Regions from separate parts of the Homo sapiens genome. Here region 1 is linked to region 2. The links are contacts of gene promoters, found by promoter capture Hi-C in human tissues and cell types (Jung and others, 2019). All regions are on one chromosome and are shown on one strand. The core of a region is centred on a gene start or on the middle of the fragment in contact, and the rest is flanking DNA. Distances in the headings are between cores, read along the strand shown. Region 1 overlaps NCEH1 (neutral cholesterol ester hydrolase 1). Region 2 holds the start of FNDC3B (fibronectin type III domain containing 3B).

What was found. Contacts are between HindIII fragments. The study calls those that stand out against the background at their distance.
Region 1: a contact is called between a fragment that was not itself captured here and the fragment with the promoter of FNDC3B in region 2, in 1 of the 25 tissues and cell types used here (dorsolateral prefrontal cortex).

The regions. Positions count from the first base shown.
Region 1 is chr3:172,633,494-172,636,780 of GRCh38, reverse strand. NCEH1 (neutral cholesterol ester hydrolase 1) reads left to right here. Exons shown (of 5, transcript NM_020792.6): 4 at 694-865; 5 at 2,689-3,287. Among named protein-coding and RNA genes, the nearest start is that of LINC02068, 40 kb to the right of the region's middle. The HindIII fragment of the contact is 4,630 bases long and covers 1-3,287 here.
Region 2 is chr3:172,038,280-172,041,488 of GRCh38, reverse strand. FNDC3B (fibronectin type III domain containing 3B) reads right to left here and starts at 1,911. Exons shown (of 26, transcript NM_022763.4): 1 at 1,718-1,911. RefSeq lists silencers at 559-928, 989-1,238, 1,419-1,518, 1,659-1,838 and enhancers at 757-1,423, 1,424-2,091. The HindIII fragment of the contact is 8,271 bases long and covers 1-3,209 here.

The DNA of each region.
Region 1 (3,287 bases), core at 205-2,704, 600 kb before region 2:
GGTGTACAGAGTAGGATTCCAAAGGACTCTGATCTTGCGAAGTGGGGCCAGTTGGAGAAGCCCCAGAAGTATCCCCGAGGGCCTGCTCTAGGCCGTCTGGAAAACTTAGCTTCCCTTTTGTGAGTTAACAACCGGCCTTTTAGTTACAGTCTTCCAGGTATTGAATGCATTTCTTGGGTTTAATGTCAGGCTAATATGGACCTCTCCAGTGAAGTACAGTTTTATTATATGAAGTAAATGATGGACTCATTAAATGTGAGATCAATGAAGTGGTTAATCCTGCCAAGTCACCTCGTAACCCAGAGGCATTATGAATGGAATGCTGACTTCCAGAAATAAAATTCTAAAATCTATTACGGTGCTATCCATGTCTTTGTAATGAACATTCGCCTTTTACTTGTTAGTTTTATTTTGGTTGTTCTTGGTGGTAAGTAGGTTTGGTTTGGTGGCTGATAGTTTAAAGAAAAATAGTACTATTACTAATACAAAATCATCACATTTTAAACTAAGTATTTGATTTGCAAGAAAATGGTTTATTTTTATATTTTATTATTTTTTCTTTTTCATACAATAATTCCATTGAATTAATTTCTTATCTATTTCCAGATTTAAAAGAACCAGTTTCCATCTAAACTTTAAATGTCCCCCAAAATTGGAGAAGGCCTTAAATGAATACAACTTTTGTTTTTACAGATACAGGCTAGTTCCAAAGGTTTATTTTCCTGAGCAAATTCATGATGTTGTACGGGCCACAAAGTATTTCCTGAAGCCAGAAGTCTTACAGAAGTATATGGTTGATCCAGGCAGAATTTGCATTTCTGGTGACAGTGCTGGTGGAAATCTGGCTGCTGCCCTTGGACAACAGGTAACACCACTGTCCTAAGGTGCTGGTGGGTTAAGCGGTGCATGACAAGGTCTAGCAGACCAACACACCCTCCATTATGTGTGGCAAATGCATAGCTGGGTGGGCCGGTCACTAGATGGCCAAATTGTTCATGTGATTACACTTGTAGAGCTCTCAGAGATCTCGTTGAAGTAGGAAGATGAGTCATTGGAGGAAGTATCACCTATGAGTCTTTGTAAAGTCCCTGATTACAGTCAGTGTTAGAGAAGGGCTGACATCCCTTGCTTCTCAGGGCTATGTATGGAACTCCAGTATCCCCTGCTCCTTTTTCATGTTTGACTTGCAAATCGGAGTATTTTTGCTTAAATTCCAGTTCCTAAGATTGTTCCTTACAACTTTGAGCCAAATTAAAACCTTAAAATTTGTTTCCCCAACTTTTTTTTAATGTAAAAGAAAGAAATTAAACGATTCAGCCATTTAAATATTATCTTACAAGTTACTATGAGCTTTACCTGGTTTAATTCTTTGAAAACTATATCTAGCTTCTAATAGCACCCCAATTTTTTTGGCAAGTGGGAAAAAGCACATTTTCTTCCTGTTATGGATGAAGTAACTTAAGACATCTTTGTCTTCTCACCTCCAAATTTCATTTGGTGTCCTCAAATACCATCTGTCATTCTAATTATGATGTACCTTGGCTTCTAACTCTTTTGCTATAATTCAAGAACTTGATTTTCCATTTGGCATTGGCAAGTTTTCCATCCAAATATGGTCAGAAGAGAGTCTTGGCTCAGTGGAGAGAACATTCTTGGCTTTGAAGCCAGACAGCACTGGGATCTAACCCAGGACCCACCGTTGAGTGCTGCGGGGCCCTGGATAAGTCCCTTAACCTCTCTGAGCCTCAGAAAAACGAGGACAGTGTCATCTGATTGCAGGGCTGTTGCAAGGACTTAGTGAGGTGATGTGTATACAATTTTTGGCACATATTCAAAGTGCTATTTACTGACCATTCTTGCTTTTGGAGAGCAGTCATATCTCACCTGGGAATGGGTTTCTAAAGTCCAAGTATGAAGCAGAAGTGTATGGCTAAAGTTACCTTGAAGATCATTTAGTTGTCTATGAAGCTTCATGACTAGTTAGCTTTCTTTTAGATGTTACACGACAAATATATAATTTTGCACACTAGAATTACAAAATGGGGCAATGTTAACACTGTGGGGAGGTGTTGGGGGACTGAGATCTGTTGAGGTAGGGGATTCATTCACATTCCCATGACAACTTCACTCTGGCATATGCTCATTATGTAGAATGGAGGGTGCATTGCCAGAACTATTTAAATTCTGTCTCACCAAGCGTGAAGATGCTCACCAGAAAGCATACCCTGAGGTCCTACTTAAACACTCAGGAGTCTCATAATCTGCTTATTAAGTTTTTTCTGCCCCTCTCTTCTGGAAGAATAAGACTAATTTTTTTCCCCCTAGGAAGCCATGACCTTTTTGGGGGTTTTGTAGGGAATAAAAAATTAAATAAGGTTCACACATTATCCATTCATAATACCTAGGTGTCTTAACTGCCTAAAGATAGATACAAGTACAGGGTTCACTCAAAACTGAGTTGTAAACATCATACCTTTCTTAGTTAAATATCTAGCAGCTTGATAGGGTGGTGATGGTAATGATGGAGAATTATTTTTTAAACTTTATTATTTATACAGTGCCTGGTAGAAATGTAACACTTATACCATTGACAGATTCAGAGTAACACATGAAGCTACTCTACAGGGTATGGTTCCTATAAAAGAAGGCATGCAAAATGAAATAATGTATTTGCTTCCTCTTCTCTAGTTTACTCAAGATGCCAGCCTAAAAAATAAGCTCAAACTACAAGCTTTAATTTATCCAGTTCTTCAAGCTTTAGATTTTAACACACCATCTTATCAGCAAAATGTGAACACCCCAATCCTGCCCCGCTATGTCATGGTGAAGTATTGGGTGGACTACTTCAAAGGCAACTATGACTTTGTGCAGGCAATGATCGTTAACAATCACACTTCACTTGATGTGGAAGAGGCTGCTGCTGTCAGGGCCCGTCTAAACTGGACATCCCTCTTGCCTGCATCCTTCACAAAGAACTACAAGCCTGTTGTACAGACCACAGGCAATGCCAGGATTGTCCAGGAGCTTCCTCAGTTGCTGGATGCCCGCTCCGCCCCACTCATTGCAGACCAGGCAGTGCTGCAGCTCCTCCCAAAGACCTACATTCTGACGTGTGAGCATGATGTCCTCAGAGACGATGGCATCATGTATGCCAAGCGTTTGGAGAGTGCCGGTGTGGAGGTGACCCTGGATCACTTTGAGGATGGCTTTCACGGATGTATGATTTTCACTAGCTGGCCCACCAACTTCTCAGTGGGAATCCGGACTAGGAATAGTTACATCAAGTG
Region 2 (3,209 bases), core at 662-3,161:
GAAGAACAAGAACAAGAAGGAGGAGGAGGAGAAGAGAAGGAAGGAAGGAAGGAAGGAAGGAAGGAAGGAAGGAAGGAGAGAGAAGGAGAAAGAAAGAAAGAAAAAGAAAGAAAGAAAGAAAGAAAGAAAACGATTTTTAAAAAGCATATTCCCTCTCCCTTAGCTTTCCCTAGGAAGGCCTGGAAACTGAAGGAAATTCAAATCAAATTAGTTGCACATTAAAAAATAAACAGACAAGCAATCAGGGGGTGCCCACCCAACAAAAGACCTCACCCGTTCCAAAATATGATTAAGCCTGGGAGGGAAGAGGGGGAGGGGGGACTAGAAACCAGCAGGGATGGAGAGAGAAACCTGTGGATTTTTGGCCCCAGCGTTGGCCCATTGCGGCCAAATTCTAAATTTTGTTTAAATAAAATGCTGGGTTGAGGAGAAAAGAAAACAAAAAGTTATAACTTTTAAGGAAGTCTGCAAACGGCACTGTCTGGATAAAATGCCATTGCTTCCCTTCGTCTGGGATGGCAGGGTGGGAGCTGAGATTCCAAAAGCTCCAACTCCGACCGCGCACTCCTGGAAGCCTCCCCGCCAAAGGCGCCGCCGGGCGGCGCAGCCCAGTCTCCCGAGACGGCGGGCCCGGGTCCTCCGGTTCCCACGGGACGCCGGGACCCGGACCTCTGGGAAAGTTCGCGGGCACAGCCCGAGGCCCCACTTTCTGCCGAGAGTGACAGGCCCTTCCCACGCCTGCCGGCCCCAGCCCAGCCGCGGGCACCAGACGGTCCGCGCGGCCCCTCCTGGCCGCCTCGGGGCGCAGATTCCGCCCGCCCGCCCTATCCCCGGCCGAGGCGCCCCTCGGGGTGACCGACTGACCGGAGCTCCGCTGGCCCACACACCGGGTCGCCCGCTCCTTCCCGCCGCGCCCCGCTCCCCCGCCCGAGCTTCCAGCCGCCGGCTCGCCAAGTCCGGCCGCGGCCGCCGGTTACCGCCCCCAGCCCGGGGGGAGCCCGGGGGGCAGGACGGGGAGGAGGACGTGGCGTGCTCGGAGGTGGCCAGCAGCGGGGCGGGGAGTGTCCCGGAGAGGCCCAGCCGGGGACGGGGGGGCCAGGCCGGCGCGGGCTCGGGACCCTCCCCGCGAGCATCCCCGGGTTCGAGGCCCCCGACCGCCCCCGCCGGCGCGGAGAGGCGGCCCCAACTTCCAGCCCCACTTCGCACTCCCGCCCTCTTCCCTCCACCATATGGAAATCTACAGCCTCAGAAAGTGACACGTCGAAGATTCCTCGGCCTCGCCGCCCGCCCTCCCCCTCCTGGGCAGCGTTCCTGCCGCGGAGATTCCGGGAGGGGGAGCGGATTCCTCGGACAAAATCTGCTGGGAAGGCTGGGGGTGGGGGGAGGCCGCGAGCCACTGCCCAATTTTTTTTAAGAGGAATCTACCCGTTTCTTTCACTCCTCCAAACCCTGAGGCAGGGGGCACAGGCGGGGGACCCCAGCCCAGCAAGGCGGGGGCCGCCCCCTCCCGGGTCCCGTGTTCCCGGGGTGCCCAGGCGAGCACGGGGCGCCCCAGCACTCCGGCGCCAAGTTTTTGCCGGGAAGCCCAGGGCGCTCCCGGGACAGGGACGCACTTTGGCGGACTCGGCGTCAGGCCGGGGCTTTCCAGTGCACCGGGACCCGGCGATCGCGCTCGGGGTCCCGGTCTCCTCTAGTCCCCGGCTCTTGCACGCCTTACCTTCCCTAGGGCTGAAACGCGGGGCTCTGGGCGCGCCACACACCGGGTCGCCCACGCCTTCCCAGCCGGCAGCCTGGAGGATCCCTGCCGCCCCCTTCGCTGCTCCCGCCGCCGCCGCTCTCCTCCTCCAGCCGCCGCCGCCGCCGCTCAAATAACTACCAGGAGGGTTTGATGGGGGATTCCGCCATGTCAATGATGTCGGGACCACATGGGGATTTGGGGCCCGCCCATTACCGTAAACCGCCGAATATACCGGCCGCCACAATCGCAGACTCGCAGAAGCTGTTGTCCCCCGGCCCTGCCTAGCTAAGCAGAAACTCCTTTTGGTTCAGCCAGACTAAAGAAACCTGAGGCTTAGGGAACTAACAACTCCTGAATGGCGAGGGCTGCGCGTTCTGCAGATCGCCAAAGTAATATAAAGGCAATGTTTACTCAGTGATAATTAAGCCTAAAACTGACTTTTTTTCATTTACACATATATTTCGCTTTTTGTTGTTGTTAACCCCCACAGCAACCTTGTGAGCTATATTACTCCCACATTTCCCACAGCATTTTATTCATACAACTAACATAGTATGAGCAATTTTTATTATACTTAAGTTAAAATCTCTCTTTCCTCTTTCTTTTTGTTTTTTGTTTTTTGTTGTTGTTGTTGTTTGTTTTGGGGACTGCAGGCACGGGGCAGGCATGAGCCACCGCACCCTTTTTTTTTTTTTTTTTTTTTCCTTTTTTGGAAGAGAGGGGGTCTCAATAGGTTGCCCAGGCTGGTCTGGAACTCTGTCGCTCAAGTGATTCTCCCGCCTTGGCCTCCCAAAGTGTTGAGATTACAGGCGTGAGCCAACTCACCCAGCCTTATTTCACAATGCGTTTCTCAGGGACAAAGACTGTTTCTTACTTTTATCTTTATATCCGTAAAATATAGCACAGTGCAAGGACCACAATAGGACTCATTAAATAACTGTTGAGTTCATATTAAGTCAAATGTAATGTATTTCTGTTGTACAGGCTCTAAGAGGTTAACAGACTGCATCCCATGCCACCCCTCAGATTATTCAGGAGACAAGAGAGCAAAAGTTAGCCTAGAGAAGCCCCTTCCATCCATAGCTGTCCAGGTATTCTGAATAGCTACATTCAGCCTCAACTATTAAGCTACAAAGGAGCATTCAGGGAGTCACTAGAGACAATGTATTACTTTTGTTAACCTAAAAAATAATAATAGCAGTACATAATACTCTGTTAAAGTCTAAAGAACACTAAGAAATAGCTCCTTCCTTCCCTTGTTCATTTGCCATTCTTTTGGGGAGATTTTAGCCTTTTTTTTTTTTTTTTGGAGGCAATGGTGAGTCCAGAGAAATGGGGACCTCTCTCCTAAATGGCTTATTTACTGTGGAGCTCCTCAAAGGGGAACTTGAAGCCATCTTTCTATAACATAACTCCAATTCTAGGTCATAGTCCTGCATGAGAAGCCGGGGCGGGGGGTAGGCAGTAGTTC